Linked DNA regions of Homo sapiens: regions 1, 2, 4, 5, 6 and 7 are each linked to region 3. Evidence: promoter capture Hi-C in 16 types of primary human blood cells and fetal thymus (Javierre and others, 2016). All regions are on one chromosome and are shown on one strand. Each heading gives the region's core, a stretch centred on a gene start or on the middle of the fragment in contact. The rest is flanking DNA. Distances are from core to core; before and after follow the strand shown.

Evidence for each region. The method cuts DNA at HindIII sites, captures the fragments that hold promoters and counts their contacts. A CHiCAGO score of 5 or more calls a contact.
Region 1: a fragment that was not itself captured here is called in contact with the fragment with the promoter of MOB1A in region 3 in 4 of 17 cell types (activated CD4 T cells, non-activated CD4 T cells, total CD8 T cells and 1 more); the score reaches 9.8 in activated CD4 T cells.
Region 2: a fragment that was not itself captured here is called in contact with the fragment with the promoter of MOB1A in region 3 in 5 of 17 cell types (fetal thymus, non-activated CD4 T cells, total CD8 T cells and 2 more); the score reaches 9.8 in fetal thymus.
Region 4: a fragment that was not itself captured here is called in contact with the fragment with the promoter of MOB1A in region 3 in 1 of 17 cell types (fetal thymus); the score reaches 6.9 in fetal thymus.
Region 5: a fragment that was not itself captured here is called in contact with the fragment with the promoter of MOB1A in region 3 in 4 of 17 cell types (activated CD4 T cells, fetal thymus, total CD8 T cells and 1 more); the score reaches 5.9 in activated CD4 T cells.
Region 6: a contact is called between a fragment that was not itself captured here and the fragment with the promoter of MOB1A in region 3, in 11 of 17 cell types (activated CD4 T cells, non-activated CD4 T cells, total CD4 T cells and 8 more). The highest score is 11.1, in activated CD4 T cells.
Region 7: a fragment that was not itself captured here is called in contact with the fragment with the promoter of MOB1A in region 3 in 1 of 17 cell types (activated CD4 T cells); the score reaches 5.2 in activated CD4 T cells.

The regions. Positions count from the first base shown.
Region 1 is chr2:73,861,830-73,864,529 of GRCh38, reverse strand. It overlaps STAMBP (STAM binding protein), which reads right to left. Exons shown (of 10, transcript NM_213622.4): 10 at 1-2,327. The coding sequence ends at 2,271. Among named protein-coding and RNA genes, the nearest start is that of ACTG2, 30 kb to the left of the region's middle. The HindIII fragment of the contact is 1,563 bases long and covers 630-2,192 here.
Region 2 is chr2:73,732,058-73,734,757 of GRCh38, reverse strand. It overlaps TPRKB (TP53RK binding protein), which reads left to right. Exons shown (of 5, transcript NM_016058.5): 2 at 167-329; 3 at 2,473-2,595. The coding sequence starts at 189. Among named protein-coding and RNA genes, the nearest start is that of TPRKB, 3.9 kb to the left of the region's middle. The HindIII fragment of the contact is 4,504 bases long and covers 1-2,700 here.
Region 3 is chr2:74,177,474-74,180,173 of GRCh38, reverse strand. MOB1A (MOB kinase activator 1A) reads left to right here and starts at 1,295. Exons shown (of 6, transcript NM_018221.5): 1 at 1,295-1,513. The coding sequence starts at 1,500. RefSeq lists a silencer at 1,534-1,723 and an enhancer at 1,587-2,270. The HindIII fragment of the contact is 1,935 bases long and covers 28-1,962 here.
Region 4 is chr2:74,553,489-74,556,188 of GRCh38, reverse strand. LOXL3 (lysyl oxidase like 3) reads left to right here and starts at 2,247. Exons shown (of 14, transcript NM_032603.5): 1 at 2,247-2,313. It overlaps DOK1 (docking protein 1), which reads right to left and starts at 1,469. Exons shown (of 5, transcript NM_001381.5): 1 at 1,375-1,469; 2 at 736-1,035; 3 at 521-614; 4 at 111-295. The coding sequence starts at 1,434. RefSeq lists enhancers at 1,168-1,227, 852-1,369 and a silencer at 1,378-2,127. The HindIII fragment of the contact is 1,450 bases long and covers 575-2,024 here.
Region 5 is chr2:74,532,776-74,535,475 of GRCh38, reverse strand. HTRA2 (HtrA serine peptidase 2) reads right to left here. Exons shown (of 8, transcript NM_013247.5): 8 at 2,157-2,656. The coding sequence ends at 2,491. LOXL3 (lysyl oxidase like 3) reads left to right here. Exons shown (of 14, transcript NM_032603.5): 9 at 22-184; 10 at 702-945; 11 at 1,045-1,160; 12 at 1,240-1,376; 13 at 1,483-1,594; 14 at 1,797-2,700. The coding sequence ends at 1,870. Among named protein-coding and RNA genes, the nearest start is that of HTRA2, 4.2 kb to the right of the region's middle. The HindIII fragment of the contact is 3,138 bases long and covers 1-2,700 here.
Region 6 is chr2:73,845,598-73,848,297 of GRCh38, reverse strand. It overlaps STAMBP (STAM binding protein), which reads right to left. Exons shown (of 10, transcript NM_213622.4): 5 at 545-911. The region is part of intron 1 of LOC112268419 (a long non-coding RNA gene); the gene reads left to right. Among named protein-coding and RNA genes, the nearest start is that of STAMBP, 18 kb to the right of the region's middle. The HindIII fragment of the contact is 1,702 bases long and covers 445-2,146 here.
Region 7 is chr2:73,752,474-73,755,173 of GRCh38, reverse strand. No RefSeq gene overlaps it. Among named protein-coding and RNA genes, the nearest start is that of TPRKB, 16 kb to the right of the region's middle. RefSeq lists a silencer at 993-1,176. The HindIII fragment of the contact is 4,937 bases long and covers 1-2,700 here.

The DNA of each region.
Region 1 (2,700 bases), core at 162-2,661, 320 kb after region 3:
CCTATCCAGTCTCAGGGCTTGTGGGCTGGCTTGATTCCACGTCTCCTCCACAGAGGTAAGATGAAGACAGAGACACTTAGACCATCCTATGCAGAGTGCCTCTGCAGTGGCTAGGCTGCAGCAGATATGAAGAGGGATCTACAGACTGATTTCCTGCACCCATCTAGCCACTAAGATATCTTGTGCCTAGAGGAAGAGAAAAGAAAATATAGCAGTTTGGTGATCAGTCTGTGATCAATGTGGTTGCAACGTATGATATGTTGTTGACCTGGCTGAATGTCTTTGGTGGGCAGAGACGGATAAGAGAGCTCACAATTCTTAGGTATCAAAGACCAATGCAGTGGTTGTCAACCCTGGTTGTACTTGAGAATTCTAGCAGCTTGAAAGACAAATGCAGAAACAACATCTGAGGCTCCACCCTAGAGATTCAGCTTTAATTGGTGGGGGGTAGAACACAGGCATCAGTATTTTTTAAATTGCTCCCTAGATATTTGAATATATAGCCAGGGGTAAGAACTTTAAGTGGAAAGTTCTGACTAAAAGCTAAATTTAGATTTTCAGCAATGGGAAGCTATTGCAGGTTTTTGAGCAAGAGAGAAAACATGAACATGGCTGGAATGTGAGAAGCTTCTCCTGATCAAAGTGTGCAGAACAGACTGGAATGAAGAAATGCTAAAAACAAAGAGACTTGGTAAAAGCCAACGGCTACAGTCGAAATAAAAGGTAAGAAAGCCCTAAGCTAAGTGGTAGACAAAGAATGGGAAGAAGGGGATGGATTTCCCAAAAGCAGAGGACTGGGCAATTTCAGGACTGTTTAGAGCAAGGTGGAACAGCCAGGCTGCTCTGGGCTGCAGCAGGAAATGGCTTGTCCAAGCCCAGCTGGCCCCCAGACCCACCCATACCAAAACAGCAAAGAAGGAATTTCCACTATATGGGGAATTAAGAACCCAAGAGAAGAAAAAGAATATAGAGAACTGGGCTCTTTCAGGGGACAAGTTCAAGGACCACTAACCTAAGCAATAAAGACTGAGACAAAATTTAAAAATGAAGAAAACTTTATGCATTCACAGATTCTCCCTCCCCCACCTAGAATTCTGATAAAGAATAAATCACTCTTCTCCTAGCCAAAGTATTTACTCTCCTGCCCTCACTCGAGGTGTCACAAATGACACCATTATTTCTAGGCCACCTAGAACACCAGGCTCAGCTCACAGAAAATTGCAGTAACAATTGCTGCTTCAAGCGTTTTCCTAGGTATTGCCTTAGTCAGAAAAGAACAGCCAACACAATGAAATTGGTAGGGTGGGGTGGCTGGGAAATGTAATCATTTATTGGAGTGTAACCTGGTACTCCAAACAAAGGCTTCATTATCCTCAGCCAAAAGCATGGAGGGCATAAGGAGGAAGTGAATGGTTGACCCATTTGAGACAGCACCAAAAGAACAGAGATGACTTCACAACACCTCTGGAAGATGGCAACAGGCAGATAAAAAACAAGGAGTAATTAAAAGTGAACTGGGACACACCATCAGTGTCAGTATATCTCAAATTCCATTTTTCCTTCACCTTTCCAAAACAACCATACCTTTTTTTTAACCTGTTTATACAATGCTTGATCAAATGGATCACTCTGAAGCACAAAAACATAAGTTAATTGTTACTTTATTGTAGAGGAAAAATATCCTGAAATATTTATTAAATAACAATAATTCCTGACAAAATCATTCTTCGGGATGTGTTAGCCAAACAATCTGGTCAAATGGAGTAAGCTGTCCCTCACCCCAGTAATAAGCTCCATTCATATTGCCATAAACCACAGGAAAATCCAAAAGATTTTCTAAATGGCTTCCAAATTTCTGCACAGATGCCCTTATTGAGCCCAGAGGTAAATATAAACAAATTGAAATTAGAGAGAAATTAGAAGGATAGCTGAGAGGAAAAAAATGTTAACAATTGGTGAATCCAGAAGGAAGGGTATATGGGGGTTCATTATACCATTCTTTCTTAATTTCTGAGCTACTTAATTTCTGAGTAACTTAATTTCTGAGTTACAGTTGCTTTTGGGTGACCATGTTCTCTTTCTGACTTGCCTAAAAAATATGTTCAGTTATTTCTTTTCAAACCTGAAATACAAAATCAGCTCTTTCTCAGGTGATGCCCCCCTTTCTACTATCTACAAAAACTTCCAAAGCTTTCTAGAAAGCTTAAATTAAGGGGCTACAGTACACTGATATGGTTTTGTTGTTCTTGGAAGGTGTTGGACTCAAACGCTCATCGAAGGTCTGTGATGGTCACTGCTCTGTCCACAACAGTCACGTGGCTGCAGCTCTGCAATAGGAAAAAAGAAAGGTGGAGTCCTAGAAAATTCTGAAAAGTCTTTTTTTTTTTTTTCTTCATATAGGGTCTTGCTCTGTTGCCCAGGCTGGAGTGCAGTGGCACGATCTCGGCTCACTGCAACCCCCGCCTCCTGGGTTCAAGCGATTCTTCTGCCTTAGCTTTCCCAGTAGCTGGGATTACAGGCACGAGCCACCATGCCTGGCTAATTTTGTGTTTTTAGTAGAGGTGGGGTTTCGCCATGTTGGTCAGCCTGGACTTGAACTCCTGACCTCAAGTAATCTGCCTGCCTCAGTCTCCCAAAGTATTGGGATTATAGGCGTGAGCCACCGTGCCCGGCCTGAAAAGTCATTTTAAAAAACCACTT
Region 2 (2,700 bases), core at 157-2,656, 450 kb after region 3:
TAGGAAGACAACATCTCATGAGGATGCCAAATGGGCTTTGGCGATGGATTTTTCTAGTTTAACACTTTTATCAAGTTACTTTCAAAGTTTTTGAATATTTATTAAGAAATGAGTTCTGATGTTAACTTTTAAATGAAATCTTTTGGTCTTTTCATTTTGTGTGCAGTAGAATCCTGCTTATCTGTGAAATGCAGTTAACACATCAGCTGGACCTATTTCCCGAATGCAGGGTAACCCTTCTGTTATTTAAAGATGTAAAAAATGCGGGAGACTTGAGAAGAAAGGCCATGGAAGGCACCATCGATGGATCACTGATAAATCCTACAGTGGTAAATATAAATTTTAAGAATGAATGAGCCTGCTGGGTGCGGTGGCTCACGCCTGTAATGCCAGCACTTTAGGAGGCCGAGGCGGGTGGATCATCTGAGGTCAGGAGTTGAAGACCAGCCTGGCCAACATGGTGAAACCCTGTCTCAACTAAAAATACAAAAATTAGCTGGGCGTGGTGGCGGGCGCCTATAATCCCAGCTACTCGGGAGGCTGAGGCAGGAAAATCATTTGAACCCTGGAGGCAGAGGTTGCAGTGAGCCAAGATTGCGCCATTGCACTCCAGCCTGGGCGACGAGCAAAACTCTGTCTGGAAAAAAAAAATGGCCAGGCATGGTAGCTCACGCCTGTAATCCCAGCCCTTTGGGAGGCCGAGGCAGGCAGATCATGAGGTCAGGAGTTTGAGACCAGCCTGGCCAATATGGTGAAACCCTGTCTCTACTAAAAATACAAAAATTAGCTGAGCATGGTGGTGGGCACCTGTACTCAGGAGACTGAGGCAGGAGAATCGCTTGAGCCTGGGAGGCAGAGGTTGCAGTGAGCCGAGATTGTGCCACTGCACTCCAGCCTGGGCAACAGACCAAGAATCCGCCTCAAAAAAAAAAAAAAAAAAAAAGAATGAATGAGCCATACAGGGCATTTAAGTATACATTAATATTTGTGATGTTATAGGGTAGCCTAAAAATCTGTCACGGTTAGGGAAAAAATTCTTGTCCAAGTCAGATGCAGCCAACTTTGACTATAACAGTGAATAGAGGCAGAAGTGCCAGGTCCTGCCCTAGGAAATAGGAAAGGTTGTGGTCTGGGTCTAATATGGGAAATGCCTGGATCTCCAGCTTCTCATCTTTAAAATGGGGGTTCCTAACAAGACAGTCTGTAGAGGAGGAATAGTGTAGTGGTTAAGAGTACACACAGAGGCCAAGGTGGGTGGATTGCTTGAGGCCCGGAGTTTGAGACCAGCCTGGCCTACATAGTGAAACCGTGTCTCTACTAAAAATACAAAAAGTAGCTGGGTGTGGTGGTGTGTGCTGGTAGTCCCAGCTACTCGGGAGGCTGAGGCACAAGAATCATTTGAACCTGGGAGGCGGAGGTTACAGTGAATTGAGATTGAGCCACTGCATTCCAGCCTGGGCAATGGAGCGAGAGACTCTGTCTGTCTCCAAAAAAAAAAAAAAACAAAAAAACAGGGCACACGCAGTGCGATCATGTTACCGGGAATTAATCCCAGACCTACTACTTAGGCCTTTGAACAAGACATAACCAACCTTTATATAGTGCTTACTGCATTCCTAGCATTGTTCCAAGTGCTTTACGTATACTAACTTGCTTAATCTTCACAACAGCCTATGGAGTGAATACTGTTTCATCGGTCTCTAACAAATAAAATGCTAATGAACTTGCATAAGTTTCCTAGGTGATAGGTGACAGAGATGGGATTCAAACCCAGACATTCTTTGCCTCAATTTCCTCATCAATTACATACTACTACTACTGCTACTACTACTAATAATAGTGTCAATTTCATAGGGTAGTTTTGAGGATTAAAGAAAATATTACAAGTAAAATGTTTGCAATATGATCATGCCCATAATATTAGCCCTCAATTAATGTTATTTAAAAAAATTTTACTATTTGCATAAGTTCCTTGCAGCTTTAAAATTCTGTGATTTCCTGACTACCCAGGCCCTTGGGATAATAGTTGTTTTTTGTTTTTTTTTTTTTTGAGACAGTTTCACTCTTGTTGCCCAGGCTGGAGTGCAATGGCGCGATCTTGGCTCACGGCAACCTCTGCCTCCCGGGTTCAAGCAATTGTCCTGCCTCAGCCTCCTGAGTTGCTGGGATTACAGGTGCGTGCCACCACGCCTGACTAATTTTTGTATTTTTAGTAGAGAGGGTTTCGCCGTGTTGGCCAGGCTGGTCTTGAACCCTGACGTCAGGTGATCTACCCACCTTGGCCTCCCAAAGTGCTAGGATTACAGGTGTGAGCCACCGTGCCCAGCCGGGATAATAGTTTTGAAAATACAGACCGTAAGAATTGTGATGAAGTAAAACAGCTTGACACTGGAGTTAACCATGAGTTACCATGTGTTTTCAGGCACTGCAGATTCTCCATGTGTAATTAATTCTTTTTCCTTGCTTTGGTAGATTGTTGATCCATTTCAGATACTTGTGGCAGCAAACAAAGCAGTTCACCTCTACAAACTGGGAAAAATGAAGACAAGAACTCTATCTACTGAAATTATTTTCAACCTTTCCCCAAATAACAATGTAATGTGCACTTTCCTATTTCTGTTGACCGTGTCATAATAACATATGTGTTCCTCAGTGTTGGGTTGGAGGCTAAATTCCTGCAAGCCAGTGGTTAGTAATAAA
Region 3 (2,700 bases), core at 46-2,545:
CAACTGTGCCTGGCCAGTAATGAAGCTTTGATACATGCTACAATATGGGTGCGTTTTAAAACATTATGCTAAGTGAAAGAAGTCAGTCACAAAAGACCACATAATGTATGCTTCCATTCACAGTGTATATGAAATGTCCAGATTAGGTAAATCCATGGAAATAGAAAGTAGAGTAGTGGTTGCCAGGGGTTGGGAGGAGGGAGGTGGGTAATAAAGAGTAACTGCTAATAGGTATGGGGTTTCTTTTCGGGGTGATGAAAATGGCCTAAAATTATGGTTAGGCTGGGCGCGGTGGCTCACGCCTGTAATCCCAGCTTTGGGAGGCCGAGGCGGGTGGACCACTTGAGGTCAGGAGTTCAAGACCGAGACCAGCCTGGCCAACATGGCGAAACCCCGTCTTTACTAAAAAAAAAAAAAAAAAAAAATACAAAAATTAGACGGGTGTGGTGGCGCACGACTGTGATCCCAGCTACTCGGGAGGCTGAGGCATGAGAATCACTTGAATCTGGAAGGCAGAGGTTGCAACGGGCCGAGATTGCACCACTGCATTCCAGCCTGGGTTACAAAGTGAGACTCTGTCAAAAAAAAAAAAAAAATTAGTGCTGATGGTTGGCACACTTTGAAAACATAAACAAAGCCGGAGGCAGTGGCTCACACCTGTGATCCCAGCATTTTGGGAGGTCAAACCAGGAGGATCCCTTGAGCTCAGGAGTCCAAGACCAGCTTGGGCAACACAGTGAGACGCTCGTCTCTGCAAAAACTTTGAGAAAATTAGCCGGGCGTGGTGGCAGGCACCTGTGGTCTCAGCTACTCGGGAGGCTGAGGCGAGAGGATCACTTAAGCCCAGGAAGTCCAGGCTGCAGTGAACTGTGAACTCCAGTCTGGGCGACAGAGCGAGACACCTCAGAAAAAAAAAAAAAAAAGAAAGAAAAAACCGAAAAAGACCACTAGAGGGTACATGTTTAAAGGACAGATTTTATGCTATGTGAATATATTTCAAGTAAAAATTAAATTAACAATTTTAAAAATTGCAGGAGTACGCAGCGCTTATAGAGGTCCCTGCATAACCTAGGGAGCGGGATCGAAACCCAGCAGCACCAAGATACTCTAAGAGCAGGACCAGCCACTGCCCCTTCCGCAGGACCGCCATCCTCGCCACGCCTCCGGGGGAGGGAGGTCCTGGCTTGGAGAGCGATGATTGGCCGAGTTCTAGGACGAGGCGGAGCGAAAGGGGGCGCGACAAGTCCCTCCCGGCGCAGCGAAACCTTAGCTCGCGAGATTTTGTTGGTTCCGCATTTCGGGTCTGCGAGGTGGGGTAGGCGGGCAAGGCGGGCGCCGAGGTTTGCAAAGGCTCGCAGCGGCCAGAAACCCGGCTCCGAGCGGCGGCGGCCCGGCTTCCGCTGCCCGTGAGCTAAGGACGGTCCGCTCCCTCTAGCCAGCTCCGAATCCTGATCCAGGCGGGGGCCAGGGGCCCCTCGCCTCCCCTCTGAGGACCGAAGATGAGCTTCCTCTTGTGAGTGGGGTCGGGCCGCGGGCGCCGGGCCTGCGGGCCGAGGTTGTGGGGGAGGCCTCCCCGGACCTGAGGCGAGGGCTCGGCCTGGGGGCCGAGGCGGGGGCGGGGTAGCTGGCGTTTGTTTTGCCTCTGTTCGGGTCCGCGGGGGAGGCCGAGATGTTGGGAGAGGCCGACAGAGATGAAGGTCGAAGTAAAGGAAACGGAGCGTGAAGGCTGGGGAGTAGAAAGGCCCCGGGGCCGTCGCGCCTCCAAACTTTTCCGCCCGAGCGCCCCCGAGGGCGGGGAGACGATCTGGGGGCGGAGCCGCGAGCCCCCAGTTTCTCTTGTCTCGAGCTTCTAGAAACCGTCCTTGCCGACTTAACTCGTTGCTCGGTTATAGGTCCAGTTTCATTATTGTCGGTGTTAAATGCCGCCCCAGGAGAATGTGCGTTGCCGCAGTTTGAGAAGCTTGAAGTTAAGATGCTGGCCTTGGAGTCGGATCGTTCTGTCCAGTTCTGATTCTGCCCACTTACTGGCTTTGATTTTAACCAACTTCTCTTGTCCTCGGTAGAATCCTGTGTTTTTAATCATTATGTAATATACCATACAGCATTATTATATAGTACATTGCAGTATTATAAATAATTTGGAAAGTTAAAACAAATTCATAGTCCCATTGCAGAAACACAGTATTGCCATTTTAGTGCACTACAGCAATTAACTTGATAGGCATACCTTAGAATCTCATTTTAGAGATAATGCCTGAGCCCAACCAAACAAGGCTAAAATGAAAAAGCTTGTAAATTCCCTGATGATTCTTATGCACATTAAGGTTTGAGAAGCATTGCTCTGGCACAGTATTTTTTATTCTCAGGTGTCTCTCTCTACCTTGTATATTGCTTAAATGTGTGTTTTGTGATTGAATAATTATCCAATTTTAGTTATGGATGTAATCCACATGCTTGACATTTTTATTAAATACAATATAAAAACACTATATAGTTTTTTTTTTATTTTTTATAACCAGAGTTTACCCACTTTATTGTGAGAAACTGGGATTCCTTCCAGTATTTACTATTATAAAATAGCACTACTCAGAATATGTTTATCTGCGTCTCATTTTCCTTCCTTTGGGTTATTCTCGTAAATGAATGGTCTCTAAAATACGATTACCTTGTCAAAAAGCCTGTATGATTTAGATTTAACTT
Region 4 (2,700 bases), core at 50-2,549, 380 kb before region 3:
CGGGTAGGCAAGAAAGGGGGATCCAAAGGTCAGAGCTTCCCACTTTCTGTCCTGCCCCACCCCTCCCACAGCTGCCCAACCCAGGAAGCCCTCCCGGACAGCCCCTGCACCTTGTCCCGGCCATAGCGACGCAACAGAGTGTAGGGCCAGGACAGGAGTGGCTCCAGTATCTGACTCTGGGCCCCCACGGTCAGGAGAGTCAGCCTTTCAGCCTCCACCCTCAGCACGTAGGAGCCATGCAGGCCACAGCGCTCGGCGGCCTCAGTCCTCTGCACCGTTACCCAGAATTGGGATCCTGGAAGGCATACACGATTAGACAGCTGCGGGGGAGGGACGGGGGCAGCAGTGGGGACCCAGAGGACTCATGAGCATAGTGTCCAAGCACTCACTCGGAAGCCAGATCTCAGGGCCTTCCTACTTCTTACTTCCCCATGGGCCCCTGGGTATCCACCCACTTCCCAAAGGCCCTCGGCCCTCCTCCTCTTCACTCCATCCCTGCCCGGGCTTCTGAGGCGTCTACCTTCCCAGGTAGGGCTGTACAAGGAGTTCTCCAGCATCTCCAGGGCAGAAAGCTTAGGTGGGTTATCGGTAGGCGCCAGAGTCCAGCTGCCTTTCTGTAGTAGAGAGCATCGAGAAACCCGTAATTTCCTCAGCGGGGAGCGGGGGTCGGTCTGAGGCAGCCCCATTTCTCTGCCTCTGTAACTGCCCCCACCCCGCATCGCCGCAGCTCCTCACCGGAAAGGCGTTTCGGCACAGCGTCTGCACCCAGGCTGCACTGGACGGCGCGTCGGCCGCCAGCAGGTGCGAGCGCTGAGCAGTGTCCAGGCGGAAGGCAGTGGCGCCGGGCTCAGGGGGGGTCTCCACGGTGACGGGGGCCACACTCACACACTCAGCCAGACGGATCACTTTGCAGTCCAGGCGGCGCGAGCTCCCTCGGCCACCCCCAGAGCTCGACCCCTTATGGTCAAAGAACTCGAGCCGCGCTACGCCGTGGGGACTGGCCGGGTAGAGCACGGCCCAGGTCTTCCTCCACCTCTAGGGAGAGAGAGAGAGTGCTCGAGAGGGAGTGGCGTGCGCAGGCGGCCCGGGTCCCGACGGGGAAGGAGGTTGCGGCGCAAGTCGATTTGGGATCTGGGGCTTCCAAACGGGGTTGGGGGCGAAGTTTCCCAAGGACGATGCCACTCCGTCTCCCCAGGACCAGAACCCCTAGACTACAGACGCTTCCCGGGAGTGTGCAAAGCAACTTCACGGGAAAGTCACAGGCTCTCCAACTCCCGGCGCCGCTCTCCAGCCCGCTGCCCACCTCTCCCTGTTTCTGGGCTCTCTCACCCACTACTAGCCCGGATAAGGTTCGGCATCCATGCGCCAGACTACCTTGGTCCCAAAGCGCTGACTCTGCAAAAAAAGCGGCCCTTCCATCACTGCTCCGTCCATGGCCCCCGGCGGTTCCTTCCGCGCTTCCTGGCCCTGCGGCGGGAGGCGGGGCGGGAGGCGGGGCCGGGTTCCCTGGAGGAGTTTCCGCCCCTCCCCGGCCCCCGCCGGCAGCCGCTGGGGGGGTCGCGGTGGGGTGAGGGAGAGGAGCGAGAAGGAATGGTGGAGACCCCCGGATTAGCCGGGAGCTGCAGCACCCCAGGCCCCTACCCGCCGTCGTGGGGGCGCGCCAGTGGCTCCACCGAAAGTCCTCGGTTTTGGCGCGAGGGCCCTGGCCTCTGGGCGTGGTGGCTGCGCGTGACGTCATATGCCCAAGGTGACGTCAGAGTGAAAGCCATGACATCACCCCGAAAGCGCCCCGGGCACCGGAGAGACCCACACGGGCCTCCGGGGCTTTATTTACCCTGGCCGGGCCCGCCCCCAGCCCCGCCCGAGCCGGGCTGTTTAGACTCCGCTGGCCCGGGACTCGGAGGGAGGGCTGGGGTTGAACCGCTTCCCGCCACCACCGGGGCCGCCCCGCCGCCCGGCCGCCGCTTGCATGTCAGCTCCCTGACCGCAGAGGCCTGGCCTCCATGCCGCGGGAAGAGAAAGCTTCATTGAACGAGCCGGGAGGGCCAGGGAGGGGGAGGGGGCGCGGCAGTGGCCAGCTCCACGGGGAGGGAGGACCCAGAGGAGGAGAGGAGGGAACTGGCCGGGAGGAATGGAAGGAGAAGGCGGAATGTGGGAGGGCTCAGGGGGATGTGGGAGGGACGAACGGAGAAGGGGGAGAGAGGGGGGTCCAGTCTCCCCTGGCCGAGCATTTTTTTTTTTTTTTGGAAGTCCTAGGACTGATCTCCAGGACCAGCACTCTTCTCCCAGCCCTTAGGGTCCTGCTCGGCCAAGGTAGGGGGAGTCACGCTAACCGCAGAGGGAATGAGTAGGGGATGGAGAGGATGTGGAGGGACCAGGGAAAACGGGTGGTGTGGGATGGAGTCGAGGGGAAGCCACCCAACTGAGAGTTTGATTCTTGTCAAAGGGCAAGTGAGACAGAGTACACGGAGGAGGCACATACCGGAGGCGGGGGCTACGGGTGTTCGAACAGGGCCGCCAGGAGCGCCCTAAGGGAGGGGGCTCCTCCGGGAGGCGCTGCCCCTGGGTCCCCAACCCAGAACAAAGCTGCCTTGTTGGATTGATTGTTTGGGTTGGGGGAAGCATGTTGACGGGGGCTTGCTGTAGAGGGGCTGTTCTCAGCCCTAGGCAGAGAAGGCCTTGGCTGAGGAGCCATAGCGC
Region 5 (2,700 bases), core at 8-2,507, 360 kb before region 3:
AACATCTGCATATGTCCCCAGGAGACCTGGTACTGGGACTCTGGGAATATAACAGAGGTGGTGATGAGTGGAGTGCGCTGCACAGGGACTGAGCTGTCCCTGGATCAGTGTGCCCATCATGGCACCCACATCACCTGCAAGAGGACAGGGACCCGCTTCACTGCTGGAGTCATCTGTTCTGAGAGTGAGTGAAGGAGGGGGTGATGCATGCCAGGGAAGGGAGTGTCTGGGCCACCCGTTTGCAGGGAAAGGGGGCTGTAATCTGGAGGGGCACTTCTTCCCCATAAAAGAGCCAGTTTCGCCGGGTGCAGTGGCTCACGCCTGTAATCCCAGCACTTTAGGAGGCCAAGGCGGATGGATCACGAGGTCAGGAATTCAAGACCAGCCTGACCAAGATGGTGAAACCCTGTCTCTACTAAAACTACAAAAATTAGCCAGGCGCAGTGGCAGGCGCCTATAATCCCAGCTACTCGGGAGGCTGAGGCAGGAGAATCACTTGAACCCAGGTGGCAGAGGTTGCAGTGAGCCAAGATCACGCCGCTGCATTCCAGCCTCGGCAACAGAGTGAGACTCCATCTCAAACAAACAAACAAACAAAAACAAAAACAAAAAACTAGTCTTACACACTAGGGAGGGATGGAAGCACCCCTCTCTGTGAAGTCAGCAGTGACTTCTAACACCCCCTTCCTTTCTTGGTGCAGCTGCATCAGATCTGTTGCTGCACTCAGCACTGGTGCAGGAGACCGCCTACATCGAAGACCGGCCCCTGCATATGTTGTACTGTGCTGCGGAAGAGAACTGCCTGGCCAGCTCAGCCCGCTCAGCCAACTGGCCCTATGGTCACCGGCGTCTGCTCCGATTCTCCTCCCAGATCCACAACCTGGGACGAGCTGACTTCAGGCCCAAGGCTGGGCGCCACTCCTGGGTGTGGCACGAGTGCCATGGGTGAGAGGGTAGGGAGTCAAGTAGAAGGGCAAGACCACGGGGGATGGGGCAAACCTTCTGGGGGCAGAGAAGGAAACAGAAGTTCCCTTCTCCCCACAGGCATTACCACAGCATGGACATCTTCACTCACTATGATATCCTCACCCCAAATGGCACCAAGGTGGCTGAGGGCCACAAAGCTAGTTTCTGTCTCGAAGACACTGAGTGTCAGGAGGGTGAGTTGGGGACTGAAGTGAACCACATGGTATCCATTGCACAGCCTTTCCTTACACTGACATATGCCAATCCCTCCAGATGTCTCCAAGCGGTATGAGTGTGCCAACTTTGGAGAGCAAGGCATCACTGTGGGTTGCTGGGATCTCTACCGGCATGACATTGACTGTCAGTGGATTGACATCACGGATGTGAAGCCAGGAAACTACATTCTCCAGGTACCTGGAGTCTGGGGCTTCCAGATGGGTGAGTGGGGGGAGCGTTAAAGACACCTTTGAATTCGAGGATTGTCGCTGGGTTAAGTGGCCTTTTTCTCACTCACAGGTTGTCATCAACCCAAACTTTGAAGTAGCAGAGAGTGACTTTACCAACAATGCAATGAAATGTAACTGCAAATATGATGGACATAGAATCTGGGTGCACAACTGCCACATTGGTATTTGATGGGAAGAGCAACCCAGGAAGATTAGGGGATGGGAGGGAAAGACGTTCATTCTCTTTTCCATAGCTTGTTTCTCCATCTTCCCACCTTCCTGTAGAGCTCTCAGTCCCTCCACTTCTACCCACCCTTCTCCACAGTGCATCTATCTCCCTCCCTCTGTGCAGGGCGCCTCCCAAATTGCCTGTCCACTCTGCAGGTGATGCCTTCAGTGAAGAGGCCAACAGGAGGTTTGAACGCTACCCTGGCCAGACCAGCAACCAGATTATCTAAGTGCCACTGCCCTCTGCAAACCACCACTGGCCCCTAATGGCAGGGGTCTGAGGCTGCCATTACCTCAGGAGCTTACCAAGAAACCCATGTCAGCAACCGCACTCATCAGACCATGCACTATGGATGTGGAACTGTCAAGCAGAAGTTTTCACCCTCCTTCAGAGGCCAGCTGTCAGTATCTGTAGCCAAGCATGGGAATCTTTGCTCCCAGGCCCAGCACCGAGCAGAACAGACCAGAGCCCACCACACCACAAAGAGCAGCACCTGACTAACTGCCCACAAAAGATGGCAGCAGCTCATTTTCTTTAATAGGAGGTCAGGATGGTCAGCTCCAGTATCTCCCCTAAGTTTAGGGGGATACAGCTTTACCTCTAGCCTTTTGGTGGGGGAAAAGATCCAGCCCTCCCACCTCATTTTTTACTATAATATGTTGCTAGGTATAATTTTATTTTATATAAAAAGTGTTTCTGTGATTCTTCAGAGCCCAGGAGTCAGTGCTGGTGGTTGGAGGGACCTGCCCCCACTGGTTCATTTAACCCTCTGTCTCGGTGCCCTCAGAACCTCAGCCAGAAAGGCAAGGAGGAAATCAGAGCAGGAGCCTCATACTCTTGGTGATCTATTCATTCTGTGACCTCAGGGGTCACATATAAGGTCAGTGTTTCTCGTCCCCGCCGGATCTGCACTGCCAACTGGGATTGGGTTCGAACAGCTTCATAAACATCTTCAGCATTTTGTACCATCTGCTCCCCAATGGCCAAAATCACATCACCAGGCCGCAGACCAGCCCTATAGAGAAAAATGGACAGAGAGAAAGGAAGGAGTACAAAGCC
Region 6 (2,700 bases), core at 46-2,545, 330 kb after region 3:
ACAAAGCAGCTCATAAAAAATGCCAAGAATGGACCCAGTTTCTGAACACCATGGAGAAACTCTGTGAGACAGCCAGCAAGCTAAAGTTAGGAAGTGTCTCTCACAGCTATATTTTCATATTTAAAAAAAAAAAGTGGGAGGGGAAAGATGTTCTGCTTTTGCGTATTCAACAGCAAGATCTGAATTGCTAGAGAGGTAACAAAGTCAGAGCAGGGGACACAGAGTCACACAGCAGTCTGATGATGTTATCTGAGGATTATGAATTCGGTTTGGCACATTCTTTTCCTTTCACTAAAAAGTTGACAGTCTGACTTTCAAGAATAATATTAGCTCTTCAGAAAATCGACCAGACTAGGTTTCAGCAAAGGCCACTTTTATAACATAGCCAGTGTATTAGGACACAGTACAGCAATACTTATCAGATGGGTTTCTGTGACCAAAGCTTAATGAGTGGGATCAGGGAGGTAATCTTAGGTTGACCCCGTCAGAATGATACTGTTTGGCTGCAACTGAGAAGGAAGAGGACATCAGCAAATGCACTTACTACTTTCTGAGTTGCTCAGTGCTCCAGGTTTCAAGGACCTGTCCACCACAGGTGGCTTAGCTGGCCTTACAGTTGTGTGACAGTCTGAAGGCTGTATGGATGAGACTGTTAAGGTGGGGAACACATCTAAGGAGGGCTTCTCCAAGTCAGGCACTAGCGGGCCACCTAGGCCAGGGTCTACCTTCCCAAACTCCTGTACAATTTTCAGTCGCTCTTTTTCTAGCTCCTGGTTCCGGATCATCTCCTCGAAGGCATGGAACTGTTCCTGTTCCAATTGCTGCTGCTTCTGTTGTGCTACCCTCTGTTTTTCCTTTTCCAGCTCTTGCTGGATGGCCATGTTCCGGGCCAATTCCTCTGCTTCCTTCTTCTACAAAGAGAGAAAATTTAGGCTAACACTTCACACCTCAGTGACTTCACACTTCAGGAGAACAAGGCTTTTTAGCATGGAGATTTCCAAAATGTACTTCTGCTGTGGCCTGATTACCTAACACAGAATTCATGCTTTCCTCAGTATCTTTATACCCACGGAGTGTAGTCACCACCCCTTTCTATCTGGCCACAGTATACCTATCTCCAAGGACAATTAAAATCCCAATCCTCTCAATACCCTCCCGACAATGACTCTACCTAATGCACTTTCCTCTTCACTGAAATCTTTTTTTTTTTTTTTTTGAGACAGGGTCTCATTCTGTTTCCCAGGCTGAAGTGCAATGGCATGATCACAGCTCACTGCAGCCTTGACCTCCCAGGCTCAAGCAATCCTCCCACCTTAGCCTCCTGAGTAGGTGGGACCACAGGTGTGCACCACCACACCTGGCTAATTTTTGTATTTTTTGTAGAGACAGGGTTTCGCCATGTTGCCCAGGCTAGTCTTGAACTCCTGGGCTCAAACAATCTGCCCACCTCGGCCTCCCGAAGCGCTGGGATTCCAGGTGTGAGCCACAATGTCTGGCCTGAAATCTTGATGCAACTTACTATCTGTGTTCTCCTAACCTGTATCACAGACAGTTTTATTCTTCTCTCTGTGTCATGTACATATTCTATATTTCAAGTAAGGCTATAAAATAGAACCAGATCCAAACTTATACCTGCTATCTTGGGGGTCTCTACTGAATTTTTTTTTTTTTTCTTAGAGAGTCTCACTCTGTCACCTAGGCTGGACTGTAGTGGTCAATCATGGCTCACTGCAGCCTCAATCTCCCTGGGCGCAGGTGATCCTCCCATCTCAGCCTCCCGAGTAGCTGAAACCAGAGGTGCGTGCCACCACACTAATTTTTGTATTTTTTGTAGAGACCCAGCTAATTTTTGTATTTTTTGTAGAGATGGGGTTTCACCATGTTGCCCAGGCTGGTCTCGAACTCCTGGGCTCAAGCGATCACCCACTTCAGGCTCCCAAAGTGCTAGGATTACAGGCATGAGCCACCACGTCTTGCCTTCTACTGAATTTTAACCCAAAATGAGGCCTCTGAAATTTTTATGGTTTTTGTGCATTTGTTCAACACAGAGTGACATTTTAAGCTAATAAGAAATACTTGAGAGGCATTTGGATTAAAAAAAAAAAGAAAGAAAGAAATGCTAAGTAATAACCTCCTCCTTAAAGCTTACACTCACTTGGTGCTTTAGAAGTATATACCTCATAGCTGTTCATCCCTCTGCTGATTTTCAACATCAGAGTCCAGAATAGAGACCAGCAGACAGCTACACAACAGCCTGTGAGTGGCTGCAGTATGTATTCACAGCTGGCCACTGACAGCGCCCTGGCAGTTTCTCCACATGTTTTAACTGACTTCCTAAAAAGAATCATTTGAAAATAGCTTGAAATGGCTGGGTGCAGCGGCTCACGCCTGTAATCCCAGCACTTTGGAAGGCCGAGGCAGGCGGATCACTTGAGGTCAGGAGTTTGAGACCATCTTGGCCAACATGGTGAAACCCCATCTCTACTAAAAATACAAAAATTAGCCGGGTATGGTGGCGGATGCCTGTAGTCCCAGTCACTCGGGAGGCTGAGGTAGGAGAATCACTTGAGTCGGGGAGGCAGAGGTTGCAGTGAGCTGAGATCGTGCCACTGCACTCCAGCCTAGGCGACAGAGTGAGACTGTCTCAAAAAAAAAAAAAAAAAATAGCTTGAAAAGTCAATTCTTATAAATAGCTTCAGG
Region 7 (2,700 bases), core at 188-2,687, 430 kb after region 3:
GCTATAGGGGTTAGTTACCATAGGGTGTATGTCCTAGACTGTTTCATTACTGGCCCTAAGTCTTGTACAAACTGTAGTTGTCTTTTTTTTTTTTGAGACGAATCTCGCTCTGTCACCCAGCCTGGAGTGCAGTGGCACGATTTCGGCTCACTGCAAGCTCCGCCTCCCAGGTTCAAGCCATTCTCCTGCCTCAGCCTCCTGAGTAGCTGGGACTACAGGTGCCTGCCACCACGCCTGGCTAACTTTTTTGTATTTTTAGTAGAGATGGGGTTTACCATGTTAGCCAGGATGGTCTTGATCTCCTGACCTCGTGATCCGCCCGCCTCGGCCTCCCAAAGTGCTGGGATTACAGGCGTGAGCCACCACGCCCAGCCGAAACTGTAGTTGTCTTAATGGGACTTGCATGATGGTAAGATGTAGGGACCAGCCCCACAGGGTCAGTGGGTTTTTCTCCCCATGTGTGGAGACGAGAGATTGTAGAAATAAAGACACAAGACAAAGAGATAAAAGACAGCTGGGCCTGGGGGACCACTACCACCAAGATGCAGAGACCAGTAGTAGCCCCGAATGCCTGGCTGCACTGTTATTTATTGGATACAAGGCAAAAGGGGCAGGGTAAAGAGTGTGAGTCATCTCTAGTGATTGATAAGGTCACGTGAGTCACGTGTCCACTGGACAGGGGGCCCTTCCCTGCCTGGCAGCCGAGGCAGAGAGAGGGAGAGCGAGAGAGAGACAGCTTACGCCATTATTTCTGCATATCAGAGACTTTTAGTACTTTCATTAATTTTGCTACTGTTATCTAAAAGGCAGAGCCAGGTGTACAGGATGGAACTTGAAAGCAGACTAGGAGCGTGACCACTGAAGCACAGCATCACAGGGAGACAGGGTCAGGCCTCCGGATAACTGCGGGCGGGCCTGACTGATGTCAGGCCCTCCATAAGAGGTGGAGGAGTAGAATCTCCTCTAAACTCCCCCAGGGAAAGGGAGACTCCCTTTCCCGGTCTGCTAAGTAGCGGGTGTTTTTCCTTGACACTGATGCTACTGCTAGACCACGGTCTGCTTGGCAATGGGCGTCTTCCCAGACGCTGGCATTACCACTAGACCAAGGAGCCCTCTGGTGGCCCTGTCCGGGCATAACAGAAGGCTTGCACTCTTGTCTTCTGATCACTTCTCACTCACTATGTCCCTTCGGTTCCTATCTCTGTATGGCCTGGTTTTTCCTAGGTTATGATTATAGAGCGAGGATTATTACAGTATTGGAATAAAGAGTAATTGCTACAAACTAATGATTAATGATATTCATATATAATCATGTCTATGATTTAGATCTAGTATAACTCTTGTTGTTTTATATATTTTATTATACTGGAACAACTTGTGCCCTCGGTCTCTTGCCTCAGCACCTGGGTGGCTTGCTGCCCACCGTAGAACAGGAATGTTAAAGGGAGAATTACAGGACCAAATCAGTCCTTGTGCCAAAAAAGCCTTCCAAGAGTGGTTGAATACCCTTTCATGCCACTTCCTTTAATGGGTATTCTGTGTCTCTCTTTTAATTTTTATGGGTTTGGCTGTGACCACTCTCCCTGGCTTCCCTTGGGCCCAAACATCTCTCCTTACCTGTGTGAGAATTTCTTCTGGAATGTCCTGAACCTCTTCGTTTTCTGGTTGCAGCAGGAGTATTTGAAACCTGCAAACTTGTTCAGAAGGAATCATTATATCTAGGCATCTGGGGGGAAAGACAAGTTGAGCATACAATTTGGCAAGCAAATCCCAGCCCAGGAGGGGCACTGGGCATTAAGCATGTACAAGAAACTATGCCCTAGGCCGGTCTCTCGTAAATGGTAACCTGAAGATTGTAGAAAGGGATAATGGTGTCTCCCAATATCCGTGTAACAGTAATGGTTTTTCCCAAAGCTGGAGAGAGACAATTGTTAATTAATTAATATGTGGCACTGTGTCAAGTAAAAAGTCAATCATTCTGTTCCCCACTGTCAGTTGTATCTAGGAATCCTGTGGGGATATAGCCACTGGTTGCTCCAAGTCTAAGGGAGTCCCTGGGACACATCAGTCTTCATCTAAATATTATTCTCTCTCCTCATCTGATTTTGAGGGACACTGCACTTGCTAGCTGCTTTGGTCAATTTGGGACAGCCCTTTTTCCAGTGTCCCTCCTTCTTACAATAGGCATATTGGTTTTTTTTCTGAAGGGGGCGTGAGCCGCTCTTTGATTTCTTCCTTTTCCCCTAGGTTGGTAGTCAAGCACAGCTGCCAGTGAGTTACTTGTTGCTTCAATTTGCACTTTCCTGAGCCTCATCCTGAGCATAGTACACTTTAAAAGCTAAGTCCACTAAATGTGAGATTGGCAACCCAAGGATCCCATTTACCTTTTGCAGTTTTCTTTGAATATCAGGGCACTGTGGCTGATAAAGGTCACATTGACCATTCTCTGATTGTCCGGTGCCTCAGGGTTAGTTAGCGTCAACCTACTTTCCACATGTCTGATGGAGTCTTTCTGGGAATTACAAAGGGTCCTCATATGCTTGCCGCTGTACTTCCTGTACCTTATTGAGGCTCTTAACCTGAGTAACCCCTTTCCTCAAACCTTCAAGGATGTGGTTCTCATAGTGTCCTAAGTGGGAAAGGCCCCACCATTTACATCGCACCTGGTCTCTGTGTTAGGGACTGAGTCTATTGGCCAGG